Linked DNA regions of Homo sapiens: all the other regions are linked to region 5. Evidence: promoter capture Hi-C in 16 types of primary human blood cells and fetal thymus (Javierre and others, 2016). All regions are on one chromosome and are shown on one strand. Each heading gives the region's core, a stretch centred on a gene start or on the middle of the fragment in contact. The rest is flanking DNA. Distances are from core to core; before and after follow the strand shown. Region 1 overlaps JPH1 (junctophilin 1). Region 2 overlaps JPH1 (junctophilin 1). Region 3 holds the start of GDAP1 (ganglioside induced differentiation associated protein 1). Region 4 has its middle 20 kb from the start of GDAP1. Region 5 holds the start of RPL7 (ribosomal protein L7).

The links. Contacts are between HindIII fragments. The CHiCAGO score rates a contact against its expected background, and 5 or more counts as called.
Region 1: a contact is called between a fragment that was not itself captured here and the fragment with the promoter of RPL7 in region 5, in 1 of 17 cell types (fetal thymus). The highest score is 9.3, in fetal thymus.
Region 2: a fragment that was not itself captured here is called in contact with the fragment with the promoter of RPL7 in region 5 in 1 of 17 cell types (fetal thymus); the score reaches 8.8 in fetal thymus.
Region 3: the fragment with the promoter of GDAP1 here is called in contact with the fragment with the promoter of RPL7 in region 5 in 14 of 17 cell types (total B cells, naive CD4 T cells, naive CD8 T cells and 11 more); the score reaches 23.8 in total B cells.
Region 4: a fragment that was not itself captured here is called in contact with the fragment with the promoter of RPL7 in region 5 in 1 of 17 cell types (naive CD8 T cells); the score reaches 7.0 in naive CD8 T cells.

What each region holds. Positions count from the first base shown.
Region 1 is chr8:74,297,675-74,300,374 of GRCh38, forward strand. All of the region lies in intron 2 of JPH1 (junctophilin 1), which reads right to left. Among named protein-coding and RNA genes, the nearest start is that of JPH1, 23 kb to the right of the region's middle. The HindIII fragment of the contact is 2,590 bases long and covers 127-2,700 here.
Region 2 is chr8:74,315,645-74,318,344 of GRCh38, forward strand. All of the region lies in intron 1 of JPH1 (junctophilin 1), which reads right to left. Among named protein-coding and RNA genes, the nearest start is that of JPH1, 4.5 kb to the right of the region's middle. The HindIII fragment of the contact is 1,108 bases long and covers 697-1,804 here.
Region 3 is chr8:74,349,096-74,351,795 of GRCh38, forward strand. It overlaps GDAP1 (ganglioside induced differentiation associated protein 1), which reads left to right and starts at 1,308. Exons shown (of 6, transcript NM_018972.4): 1 at 1,308-1,483; 2 at 2,179-2,371. The coding sequence starts at 1,367. RefSeq lists an enhancer at 1,321-1,550. The HindIII fragment of the contact is 8,708 bases long and covers 1-2,138 here.
Region 4 is chr8:74,369,436-74,372,135 of GRCh38, forward strand. It overlaps a transcript of GDAP1 not described here. Among named protein-coding and RNA genes, the nearest start is that of GDAP1, 20 kb to the left of the region's middle. The HindIII fragment of the contact is 6,781 bases long and covers 1-2,700 here.
Region 5 is chr8:73,292,201-73,294,900 of GRCh38, forward strand. RPL7 (ribosomal protein L7) reads right to left here and starts at 1,433. Exons shown (of 7, transcript NM_000971.4): 1 at 1,399-1,433; 2 at 489-597; 3 at 39-205. The coding sequence starts at 1,412. RDH10 (retinol dehydrogenase 10) reads left to right here and starts at 2,402. Exons shown (of 6, transcript NM_172037.5): 1 at 2,402-2,700. RefSeq lists enhancers at 685-1,393, 1,015-1,064, 1,075-1,434, 1,394-2,101, 1,555-2,044 and a silencer at 2,135-2,700. The HindIII fragment of the contact is 6,100 bases long and covers 183-2,700 here.

The DNA.
Region 1 (2,700 bases), core at 172-2,671, 1.0 Mb after region 5:
TTCTTTTGCTCCATTTTGCACACAACTAATAAAAACTGGAAAATGCCTTTTCTAAGGCAAAGAAAGTTATAGATGTGAATTTCATTCTTTTATATAAACGTAGTCAGAGTCAACATGAAGAGTTAAAGCTTTGATAGTGTGTGGCTATCTAGATAGTGTGATGACTACTCTTATTACCCCTTAAATAAAAAGTACTTGCTAATTTGATTTTAGATGATGAAATTATATAGAGAAATTACATTTATAACAACAATTGAACCTTGTCTAGCATTTTGTCTTAATAGTAGCACAAAAATAATTCTCTGCTTCTTTCCACACACAGGTCATCATCTCTGCCTCTTCTTTAGAGATTTCTCTATTCCAGCCCCCTCTACTCACTTTCCTAATAATTGCTGTTATAAATGCCAGTGCCAATCTCCAATTTTGATGTATTCATATCCTCGGGAAGCTGCTAAGTGCTCAAGGCTTCAAAGTACTGTTCTTACTTGAAACTCATGTTATCTTTTTATCTATCACCTTGAATGTCCACACATCAGATTCACTATCTTTCTCCCCATAATGTCTCCATCAGCCTTTATGGTGCCACTTATGCTCTTAGCTAATTGTACTCACATCCTTAGAACGTTAACTCCCTTGTATACAGCTGGTTGTTGTATACAAGATGGGTTTTCCTTTACAAATTTCAAGGGTGCAGTTCTTTATTGCCTAGATGCATTTATTCATGTCCTTTATGATCTCATCCCCAACTTCTGCTGCTTGCAATCTACCTTGAGCACTGTAGCTAAAATCACTCTCCTCACATGTTGTTTTGCTCCTGTTAATAACTTCCTCGGCACTCTGAAACGGTTTCCACTTGTGTGTTGCATAATACCCTGGTTAGTGCTTTTCAGATCCTTTAATAGTCAGGCACCCCTTATCTAATTGTCCTCTTCTCTTGCCATGACTCAGCTGTACTCGACGGCACTGCAACGCAAAATCCAGGTGGGTTTGTTGTAAGACTTTTCAAAAGAGGATGAAGCTACAGGGTACAAATCTGACAGTAGGGCTGTAGCTAATATCTCCACCACTTTCCTAACTTTCCTACAACAGCATTCATTTTCAGAAATATGAGTAGTCATACCACTGCTGTTCTCCACAAATTTATTACCTTTCTGGATGTTTTTCCTGGTGGTAGAATGAAGGCACGAGAGACCTGTGTGCATATGAAAGATCCTTGTTTTCAGGTTCTACTACTGGCAATGGGAGCCATTACGAAACATCAACCCAGAATATCAGGAGAAGATTAAACAGGCTATGAAGCTAAAATTAAGACCTATTACAAAAAGCCACGAAGACGACACTGCCCACAAATAATGAACACTGGTGACCTTTACTGCCTTTGAGGGGGTTTTTTTCTCCTCGGGCTGTACATCATTAGATGGGGTCTTCTCCCACCTGGTAAAATTTCGATCCACTGTGAACAAATCTTCCCTTAGCTTCCCTTTAAAATGTTGCCGAAGGACCAACTTCTTTACGAAGTCATTCCAGAGCAACTCTTCCTGGCACCAGACACACTAATCATACCGGGACCTTCTTTATTCACCTCGTCTTTCTAATATTTCTCCCTTTTTCTCATTATTCAGTATTTCTTTAGGGTGTTAAGTGTAGCCTAAAGCTGCCTCCTTACATATTTTACATTCAGCCTAAAGGTTTCTCTGCACACCACGAACTATAACCTAAATGGAGTTGTATACAGATTGTAGCTTACTCTTGTGTCAATCACTGAGTTTTGGGCCAATCAAAGGGGGTCAACGATTCGAGCCGTGTTCAAATAAGGCAAATGACGAGCTGTAGCCAATCAGCTGTTTCTGTACCTCACTTTCCTTCTTCTGTCTATAACCCTTCTTCAACTACACAGCTGCACTGGAATCTCTGTACCCACTCTGGCTCGGGTGGCTGCCTGATGTGCGAATTGTTCTTTGCTCAATTAAACTCTGTTAAATTTGGCTAAAGTTTTTCTTTTAACCACAGCCACATATGCATATTTACATAGACACTGTTTATGGGGAGCGGGGTGCCTGTCTGAGGCTTGTTTTGTTTTTTCCCTTTGTTGGTGTATGCCTTCTATTTCCCTTGAAGTATCTTTAACATGTTGTCATTGGGTGCTGAATACAGTGGCACATCTTTAACTGTTACAAATATAGCAACTGTAATTTAAAGAAAACTTTTAAACAATAAAGTTTTGTAGCTGAACTTTTAACACCACAAAAGTGATTCATTACTAAAAAGTTTAAAGAAAAAAAGAAAAGAAAACCTTCAATATGTTCTTCTCGCCCTCGTTTTCACTTACGGAATTAAACAGTAGTGACTACTTACTCTAGAATCACATTTTCATAGTTCCAACAATGGGCTGAAAGTTACTCTGATCTAGCGAAGAGTTAGAATAATTTTTCAAAATGCTTTTACTGTCAAATTCACACAGTACCATGAAAAACAACAAAAACAAAATATCACTAGGCTATAGGCCAAGTAAAAGTCTTTGGAACTGCTTTATAAACAAGTCAATCCACTCCTTTGTTAATTCCTAGAAGACTAGCCATTTTGACGTTTATATAAACTATGAAACCTTCATGGAATGTGGCAGAGCACTAATAAACAAATACGGGACTGACTGAATTGCTTCGTGTTATTTTTTTAACTACCTCCCATGTACATGCATTT
Region 2 (2,700 bases), core at 1-2,500, 1.0 Mb after region 5:
CGTGAGTCGGGGGCAGAGCTGCACCGTCACCTGCACCATCCAGCGCACACTGGCGCAGGCCTGCCCAAGGTCAAATCTGACCCATTTCCAAGTCAACCCTGGGGGATACTTTGCATCCACTTGTGAATCCCCGCCCTGTAATTTTGGGTGTAAGGCTTTAATGTCATTGCACAGAATTTTCTAGTAGTCAGATAATTTTTGCTTTTCATTAAAATTTTATGCAAGTATTTCAGAGGAAAACCACTACTTTCTAATACAAAAAGTGAACACTGGGAAACAACATTCTCCTCTGAAATTAATGCATCAAAAATTCCTCTTGGGAAGAAGACAAGGAAACAGTAGAAGATGAAATGAATTCTATGTGTAAATTTTATTCTAATATTACTAATTTAGCTGGAAAACTGTAAAAAATGACTTTTAGGTCTATGTCAGTATAACATTCCAAGAAGTATACAGGCTTAAATCGGAATACTTGGGACACAGTCATCAAATGAACGTCTTAAATTTTCTGCTACATTCAGCATCTCTTTTTTTAGTGTAGACAAAACTGTTGAATATTCAGGATTATCATTTGAATTTGGGTGAACCTTTTTGAGCTAAGAGAGAATCGACAACCACAATATATATTATGAATACAGTGAATTATGAAAAAAATGAGTAATTTAACATTTTTGTGCTTCTAAGTGAAAAGGCCAAAGCTTTGTGCCGTATCATTTGCCAAATCTCTGCATCCTCTATGGATTTCCCTAGCTGCCACTGCATTGTGAATCACACCACAGACTAGAAGCACCCTGAGGGCAGGAATTACTTCGTATGAGAACACAAAATTCTCATGTGTCCTCTGGTCTGTGTTTGTGGATGGAGGGTGTTTGATGACTATGTTGACGGTAAAAAGCTATGGTGGCTAAAAAGTATACCCTTTACTCTTGGAGAAACTGATGTAAGGCCAGATGAAATCTTCTACTGTTACCATTTTGGACTTCATCTCAGAGGAAAGGTATATTTGACACTATCTATTAAAATGTTGATACCAGATGACTCTGTCAACAAATATTATGCTTTTTCATGATAGTCTGTCATCTAGAGCATTTGTAGTGAATTTTTTGCTACTAAATAAATAAGCAAAGACATTAAAAAATAACCTGGTACAGGTTTTAAAATAATCTTAGGAGGAAATGAATGTTAAATTAGGGAATTTAGAAGTTTCTTTTCAAAATCAATTTCCTTTAATTAAGGGTAAATTTTAATTTACAGTATCCCTCAAAAGAAGCTATCTGGAAAATTTAAAATGTAATTACTTCTGTGTTATTCATAACAATTCACAATGTCATAGAAAACAAATAATGATTAGTCTGTCTTGACCTCTTTCCATTTCTGATTATATAGATCTACCCTGCAGTCACTTTGCATTTTATATTTCCATGCACAGATTTCCATTGCATGGCACATATTCATTTTCAAAACACCGGGCAAAAATGCTAGTGGTTTTATATAACTGTGTTAACAATGGCTGGTTATTTCATTGCACTTAAAAGTTAAAACCATAATGACTCCCAAGTCAACGGTTTTGACCAATTTCAAGACTACCTTCTCTTTTTGTTCATTCTGGCATATGTGACACAGGCAATAGTAGATATACAATGAAATACTAAGTGGGTCTGGTACTGTAAATGTCATATTCTGGGTAGATGTGAAGTCTTAACTTGACATCTATGAACTTCTGAGGAGGTGGGTGGCCCACAGTTTTCTCTGAAAGATTAACTCAAGAGGATAAGATAGTCATGTAAAACATTTCAGGCTAAGAAGCTTCCTATTGAATACTGGCCATCTCCAAATACCGCCATCTTAACAGGAATGGGAATGGAATTATTAGGAAATTTTGACTTTGACTTTTCCTTTGCCTATACAGGTAAAATTTAAATTCTAGGATGAAAGTTTCACAATCTGGCTTGAAGATACTAAAATAAACCACCTTATTTTTAATATTTTGTTGGTTAAAAGAATGCTATAATCACATCCTCCTAACTTTTGTCTATAGTGACAAGTTAATTTTGCTAGAACAATTTGCAGAGATGCTGTTTGATATCAATAAGTATCTGCACTTTTAAAACACAGCCATACCATCTTGGTAAATGTTTAACACTGATGGAAAATTAACAGCTAGTTTCTTTAAACTGTTATCTCCAAAAATAAGACTAGTACAGTATTTAGAATTTCCAAAAAAGTATGGCTTGAAAATCCAAGCTGTTTAAGGCAACAGCAATAATTAGAAAGTTTAAGTCTCTGCTTAACTGTCAAATAGGGAAGGGGGGGACAAGAGCATTGGCCACATTCCTCTCCTATTTTGTTAAATCACAGTATATGAAAGAATTCCTCCACAGAATTGCTAGAAACCAATTTGCAGTCAAACTGTTAGCAGTTCATCTGAAATTTAAAATAGGTTTAGTTTAGTCAATGAACCTAGAATAAGAAAGGGCCTATTTCTTTATGAAGCAGGTGGGTTCCAACTTCTCCCTGCTGCTCAAATAAAGTTCTAATTAGTTCCTCTTGATTCCTAAAATGTAGATGCATATTTCACAAGTATAAAAATTACTTTTACCAGTTTTAAACTGTGTTCATTTGGGAGCTAATTTTTTAGATTTAGTCATTTTAACTACACAATCTTGTAGTGGAAGGCATCCAGTTTAGGAGTTTCAGTCA
Region 3 (2,700 bases), core at 58-2,557, 1.1 Mb after region 5:
TAAAAGACATTATGAAATCTTAAAAAATTATGAAAGAATTACAGAGAGTAACAAATGAAGTACTGTAAAGGCAAGGAAGAACCTCATGAGATTTTGTCTTTTCCAGGGGCCCTTCTCTGACCTGGGTTGGCTGCCTGCCCCTCCTTTCTCATAGTACTCTGTGTTCACCCTAAGACAGTTCTCATCTTTATTGTGATTGTCTATTTCCTTGGTCGTCTCTACTGCCAGATTATATCTTGAGTGTTAGATATTAGATTTCACACATCTTTATATTACCAGGAGCCAGCACAATGTCTGGAACAGTGTAGGTGCTCAATAAATATTTGCCAGATAAATTATACAGGCATTTATTCTATGGTCATATTTATACATATTACTGAAAGAGATTTTTAAAATCAACTTACTATATGATGCCAAATTTTTAAAGACATACAATAATAACTAGACTAATATAAAATTATGATTCTGACTATGGTTATAACAGAATGTTTATAAGACAACTGAACCTGTGACTAAGACTGAGTGCCTACAACGTGACAGGGTGTTCTGAGTGTTTAACATTTTATTATTAATTTTTCACAAAAATCTTATGAGGGAAACAATAAAATTATTATTCTTACTTAGAAAATGGAAAAACCAGGATATGAACTTAGGCAGTACTGTTGTAGAATTTTTGTGTTTAACAACTAGGCTATTTTATATCGCCATTGTTTATTAGCTGTTTATGACAAAAACAGTTTTTTTGCATGACTCCATAGTGGTATTTTTTTTTCTTTTACAAAGCACAGTTTAATTATCAAAATCAAGTACTTACTGTTTATACAAGACTATTCTCTAATCTACAGCAGTTAGTCAAATTTGTGGAATTAGTCCACTAATGTCATAGTAGCATCTTCTAATGAAAGCTCATAGATCCTTTTCCTGTTGCTTTGCTTGTCGACCGGAACTTCCTTTCCAACAAAGGAACAGGCTCCAAGAGCAACCCTCAGTATCTTGGGAAATTGCTGCTTTTATACCTGAGCAACCTCCAAACCGAAGAGTAATTTGCTATCATCATTCTTCCTTACTGCCCTTCATAACCAGGGTCTCATATTTTTTATTTTTTCTTCTAAAAAAAAAAACAAACCCAAAAAACAACCGTTCAATTGCACCTCCCAGGTGCACTCCCAGGCTTGCCAGGGGCTTTCCAGTCGCAGACCCCGCGTGTTCGCAGACTCTGCCGCCGGCGAAACTACATTTCCCAGCGGGCCGCGCGCCCTCCTTCCGGCAGGTACCCCTCAAAACCCGGAAACGCCTTGCGGGGCAGTGTGGGAGGGAGAAGTCCAGGGCGGACAGGCTGGGCGCACCCGTGCTCGCGCACCCCAAGATGGCTGAGAGGCAGGAAGAGCAGAGAGGGAGCCCGCCCTTGAGGGCGGAAGGCAAGGCCGACGCGGAGGTTAAGCTCATTCTGTACCATTGGACGCATTCCTTCAGCTCTCAAAAGGTACAACAGGCCTTGGCGGCGGAGGGTGGCGCGGATCGGGCTTCAGCACTGGGACAGCTCCTTCTGAGTCCCGCCCAGGGAAGCCGGTCCACCTAGAAATCCGCCTCCAGTGTCCTGACCCCGGGCAGGCGCTCCCTCCAGGCGGGGACGCGCCCGGGTGGGGAGCGGGGAGAATCGATCGGAGATGATCCTATGTGGCTATGGCCCAGGCTCCGCCTCTCGCGAAATGCGACAAAAAAGCATCATTTTCAGTATTTGGTCTGGAGGCCTTGCCTGCTGGTCTTCGGAGAGAGGCAGAGGGAGGTGCCTTTGTGGACCCTCATAATCTGCGATCTCTTCTTTTGCTCTCTCGCATTCACTGTCTTCAGCAAGAGCTGATGTACCTACATGTCAGGTTCTTGTCTGGGGAGGACCCATAATCAGGTTTAGGACACCGAGAAAGTGGTAGTGATGAGGAGGGTGACTGTTTAATGAATACAGTCAGAATCATTTCATTACTTATTTTGTGTTCTTCTCTTAATTTGTTGAGTATTGTTCTTTCCTTACTTGTTAATTCCAGGAATAGGAATTGTTAAAACGACTGTTGAAAATGTCGGTAACACAGGGAAGCCCAGAAAGGCTGCTTAGCGGTGTCCAGGGAAGTCATTTAATTGAAAGCTTACATGTGTTGTAGTAACCAGTGTGAACTCTTCCAGGTGCGCTTGGTAATTGCTGAAAAGGCATTGAAGTGCGAGGAACATGATGTAAGTCTGCCCTTGAGTGAGCACAATGAGCCTTGGTTTATGCGTTTGAACTCAACTGGAGAAGTGCCTGTCCTTATCCACGGGGAAAACATAATTTGTGAGGCCACTCAGATCATTGATTATCTTGAACAGACTTTCCTGGATGGTAATGTTAAGGCTACTTGCGATTTCTTGGATTTACTTTCAACACAACTATGTGTTCCCTTTCTCTTTTTCTCTCTCTCCTCTCTCTCTTTCTCTTGTGTCATGATGGTGGTTTGGGATTAAAAACCTTTTCCATTTCCATAAGCACACAAATATCAAATAGGTCAATAACAAATTTTGTATAGGCTAGTGTAATGCTATTTAAAATAATTTAATGCAAAATACAAATGTTAATGTTGAAACTTAAAAAAATTCACTTGCAAAAAACTGCAAATGTGTGGTTTGTGTTGGTGATTTCTTAGTCTTAAATTCATAATATTCTAAATGTGC
Region 4 (2,700 bases), core at 51-2,550, 1.1 Mb after region 5:
CCAAATGGAAATTTTAGAAAATTACATAAGTGAAAAATTCATTGGATGGGCTTCACAGCAGATGGAAGATGGCAAAAGGAAGATAAAGAAACACAGCCTCAGGAACATGTGGAAAATATCAACTGGTCTAATATGTGTGTTACGGGAGTTCTAAAAAGAGAACAAAGAATGGGGCAGGAAATTGTGTGTGTGTGTGTGTGCATATATATATATATATTTAAATAATGCCATATTTTCCCAAATTTGATGAAAAAACATTTACTTACTCGTCCAAGAAAATCACTGAACTCAGTGAAAGATAAATACCAAGAAAGCCTCACGTAGGCATATCATTGTCAGACCGCTGAAAACAAAAAAATCTTGAAAGCAGTTAGAAGGGGAAAAAAAAGATATACACAAGAGAATGATGATAAGAATGTGTGCTGACTTACCAGAAATAGTGGAATGCAGACAACAATGAAAATGTCTTTAAAGTGCTGATGGGGTGGGAAGGGGTGGTGAGGGAATCCTGCCAATTCAAAATTTTATATCCAGAGAAAATACCCCTTAAAAACTTGGGTTTTAAAGACACTTTATTTCATATAAATTGAAGCCAAGAGAAGTTGGATCCAGCAGGCCCCTGCAAAACCAAAAACTGCTAAAGGCCATTTTCAGACTGATGGAGAATGATACAAAATGGAAACCAAATCCACAGAGAGGGGAAAGAAAAGTAGTGCCAGGAATGGCAAATAATGGGTACATATAAAGACTTTCATTGCCTCATAATTTCCTTAAAAGGTTACTGTTTAGAACAAGAATAATAGCATTATTATGTAAAATGTAAATTTCTGGGCTCTATAATATATGTGGAAGTAAATATATGAAAAACACAAAGGTTGGAGGAAGTGGATGAATGGAATTACACTATTGTAAAGCTATTAGGTTAGTGATATGTAAAGAATGAAGTGTGAGGACAGATGTGCCAAATGAAAAGTATCAAGTGGGAAGTGTGAAGAAGGAAGTAGTGTCAAGGGTGAAGTAGTGCAATTTTGACACTAAATAAACTCTGATAAGAACACGTTGTTAGCTCTGGAGGAACACTAAAATTTAAAAAATCCCTAAGAAACAAATAGAAATAAAATACCAATGAAAGAAGCAACAAAACAAATAAACAGAAGGGACAAATGGAAAACATAGCAAGGTGGTAGACTTAAACACACCAAAGCAATAATTGCATGATATGTAAATGTAAATAGCATTGAATGTAAAATGTTCCAATTGAAGGTCAGAGATCAGATAAGAATGCAAGACACAAGTATGCGCTATTTATGAGATGTACTTTAAACATGCATAAACTGAACATAAAAGTATGGAAAGCGATATACCAGGTATACATCAAGAAAGGTGGTATGGCCATATTAATTTCAGAAAAAGTGGAGTTTAAGACAGAGTTTTACAAGAGACAAAGAGGGACATTTATGAATCACAAAAGAATTTATTAGGAAGACATAATCATAAATACATATTCATCTAAGAGCTTCAAAATGTATGTGGCAAAATCTGACAGAACCAATGGAAAATGTTAGTTGGAGATTTTGTCACTATTCTCTCAGTAATGAATAGATAAAATAGACAGAAATTCAATTGGGATATAGAAGATCTGAGCACACTGTCAGCCAACTTGATCTCATTCACATTTACTAGACATACTCAAAAACTGTGGAATAAACATTCTTTTCATGTGCATATGGAATGCTCATCAAAGTAGACATATTCTAGGCCATAAAACAAATCTCACTAAATATTCAGATTTTTATGTTGCAGAGTATATTCTGTGGCCATTGTGGAATTAAGTGAAAAATCAACAACTAAAATATTTTAAACATTTTCAAATATTTGGAAATTAAATAGCACATTTGTAACCCATGGCTGAAAGAAGAAATCATAAGGGAATAAGAAAATATGGCCGGGCGCGGTGGCTCACGCCTGTAATCCCAGCACTTTGGGAGGCCGAGGCGGGCGGATCACGAGGTCAGGAGATCGAGACCATTCTGGCTAACACGGTGAAACCCCGTCTCTACTAAAAATACAAAAAATTAGCCGGGCGTGGTAGCGGGCGCCTGTAGTCCCAGCTACTTGGGAGGCTGAGGCAGGAGAATGGCGTGAACCCGGGAGGCGGAGCTTGCAGTGAGCCGAGATCGCGCCACTGCACTCCAGCCTGGGCGACAGAGCGAGACTCCGTCTCAAAAAAAAAAAAAGAAAATATTTTGAGTTGAATAATAAAAATACACTTCAGAATTTGTGAGATACAGCAAAGGCAGTGCTTAGAGGGAAATTTATAGTTTGTTAAAAATTTTTTATTTTTTTTTATTATTATACTGTAAGTTCTAGGGTACATGTGCACAATGTGCAGGTTTGTGACATATGTATACATGTGCCATGTTGGTGTGCTGCACCCATTAACTCGTCATTTACATTAGGTATATCTCCTAATGCTACCCCTCCCCCCCCACCCCATGACAGTCCCTTGTGTGTGATGTTCCCCTTCCTGTGTCCAAGTGTTCTTATTGTTCAATTCCCACCTATGAGTGAGAACATGTGGTGTTTGGTTTTTTGTCCTTGCGATAGTTTGCTGAGAATGATGGTTTCCAGCTTCATCCATGTCCCTACAAAGGACATGAACTCATCATTTTTTATGGCTGCATAGTATTCCATGATGTA
Region 5 (2,700 bases), core at 183-2,682:
TTCCCATTCAAACCCGAATGCAGTAAAACTGAACTTACCCTCTGATTCTGATGACAAACGCCAATTTGGGTTCTGCAGGTACATAGAAGTTGCCAGCTTTTCTTGCCATCCTCGCCATTCGAATTTCAGTTCTGTACATCTGCCTATATTCCTTGTGATAGTGCTTTGCTTTTTCATAGATAAGCTTCCTCCTTGCCTTTCGAAGCTGAAAACCAATAATCAGTTATTCATAATTTTTAGCTCAATCACAATTAGCAATGCCAATCATTAAAAAGAAAACTACAACATGTTTCCTTTAAATCTTTTCTTGCCACAGTATGCAATTACATCCCCCACCAAAAAACCCCACTACCTTCAGATTGTAACATTAGGTAGCTAAGCAATTACTCAGTACAGTTAGGAAGTAAATCTTGCCAAGAACATTCACCTCATCCTCAATCCCAATAAGGCGCCTCCTTATGTGCTAGTGCCTCAAAAAGTTTACTTACCATCTTTTGGGCAAACTTCTTTCTCAGGCGCTTGATCTTCAGCTCTGCGAAATTCCTTCGCTTTTTCTTAAGGGTTTCTGGCACAGCAGGAACCTCCTTCTTCTTCTCTCTAACGTTAATAAACAAAAATGTTATCAATAGCTCAAAAAGCTCACAGCGCTGTATTACTCCCGTACTGAGCAGTGTTGTTTACCAGAAATGCTGTCACTGACTTTAGTCACTAGTAACTTTACTTGCTCTGGCATGCTACAGTGTACGATGCATATTTTAGCTCCATGTCAATAACCTTTAACACCATGTTGCCTAAAACGCAATCACAAATATGACAATAGCAATACGTTTTTCCCTATTTCAACCAAGAGGCCCGGCCTCCGACGACTAATTAAAAAAAAAAACAAAAAAAACACACCAACACCCGAATAACAAAATGTACTAGCTGAAAGACTACTGCAAGGCACTGACCCCGAGACTTTAAGCGCAAAAATTAAAAAATAAAAATAAAAAAAAAACAAGCCACCACCACTCTGGTTCAATCAGGATCCACATGTTGAAAGCAAAGGCCTGGCGGCAGGGAGGCCTGTACCAAGCACCAGCCAAGGACGAACACAATTCAGAGGTTCTGCGCCTCCCCCGAAAGACCCTCTACCGAGGACTGGGCCGTCAGCCAACCGACGGGTTCCACACACATTCCAACCCGACATCTCGTTCCCGGGATCTCCAAAACCTCCGTCCTAAGACCGCCCGCATCCCAACCCTAGCCTCAGGTCCCCACTGGTGTCACACAGCGTTCACAATCAAGCAGGGAGGTGGGCAAAGGTGCAAGCTACGGCCAGAGAGAGAAAAAGTGACACAAAAAGTATCTGGCTCTGGAGATGGAGAAGGATTCTCAAGAGGACCAGAAGCAACTCACTCTACACCCTCCATGGTTCCAGCCGGAAAAAGAGGAAGTTGGCGCATGCGTACTGTCCACTTAAAGACTTCGCGAGAGAAGCCCCACGACTCATAGGTGTCTTAGAATAAGCCGGAAAAGAATCCAGAACTAAAAAGCCGCCTTGCAGACGCAAAGAACTCCCTGATTTAGCCTCTTTCAACAAACTTTCGGGTAAAACTTGTTTGAAGAAAATATATGCATTTGATTAGACTTTTTAATCAATTCAAGAGCAAAGAGTGCTGACACCTTGGCAACTCCGGGTCCTAATCCCCAGGCTGCGCTGACAGGATTAGGCTCCGTTCCTCCCCATAATGTTCCCAGGACGAGCCTCATGGGGACGAACTACAAATCCCAGCATGCACCAGTCTTCGCCCGCCCGGCGGGAGGGCAACGGCTGACCAGGACCGCAGGCAAGCACCGCGGCGACGGTTCCAGCCAGGAAAATGAGAGCCTCTTGGGCCACGTTCCAAACGGCTAGCTGCAATTCGAAGTCACTTTTGGCCGCCCTCCCGGCTCCCTGCCGCGGTAGTCGCAGACTACACCCCTTTCGCCGCTCCGCGAGGTCCTTGTCGTCGCTCCAGCCCACAGGGCTGTCTTCCGCAGCGCCTGATCGCAGGCGGGGCGGTCTGGAGTGCTCTAGCTTACGAAAAGTGGCTAGCCAGGGACCAGTGGGGACCGGACGGCCGGAGGAGGATGGCCGGGGCTCTGCTGACTGCCGAGCTCGGCAGGCGGAGGCCAGGACACCCCACGGGAGGGGGCGTGAGCTGCGAAGGGAGGTGCGAGGAGGGCTGAGGTTGCGGCCACGGCCGTGTGAGAGGGGCTACCCGGCTCGGCTCCGCGGACGGCTGGCGGGCTGGGGGCTGGGCCGGGGGCGGGGTGCGCCCGGGGGCGGGGAGGCCGGGCGGAGGGAGGGCCGATGCCGAGGCTGGCGCGGGCTCTTCCCGGTCGCGGGGTTATATAGCGCGGAGCGTGGAGCCCGCTCAGAGCCGGCCCGGAGCGCTCTGACTTGCAAGCGGGCTGCGCTGCGGAGCCCAGTGCCCGAGTGACACCCGCGGAGAGTGCAGGGCCGGGGAACGCGAGCCCTCGGGGGCAGCTGCAAGGCGTTGGGCAGCGCTTGCCTGCGCCGAGCGAGTCTCCCCTTCCCGGCGCTCCGCCGCCCCGCACCCCACTCTCCCACCCTCTCGCAACTTGGGTCGAGTTGACAACTCCCGCGGCAGCCCGCTGGCCCGTGCCGCCTCCGCTGCGCACCCCTCCCCCGGGGTGAGAGGGAGCCGGCGCGCC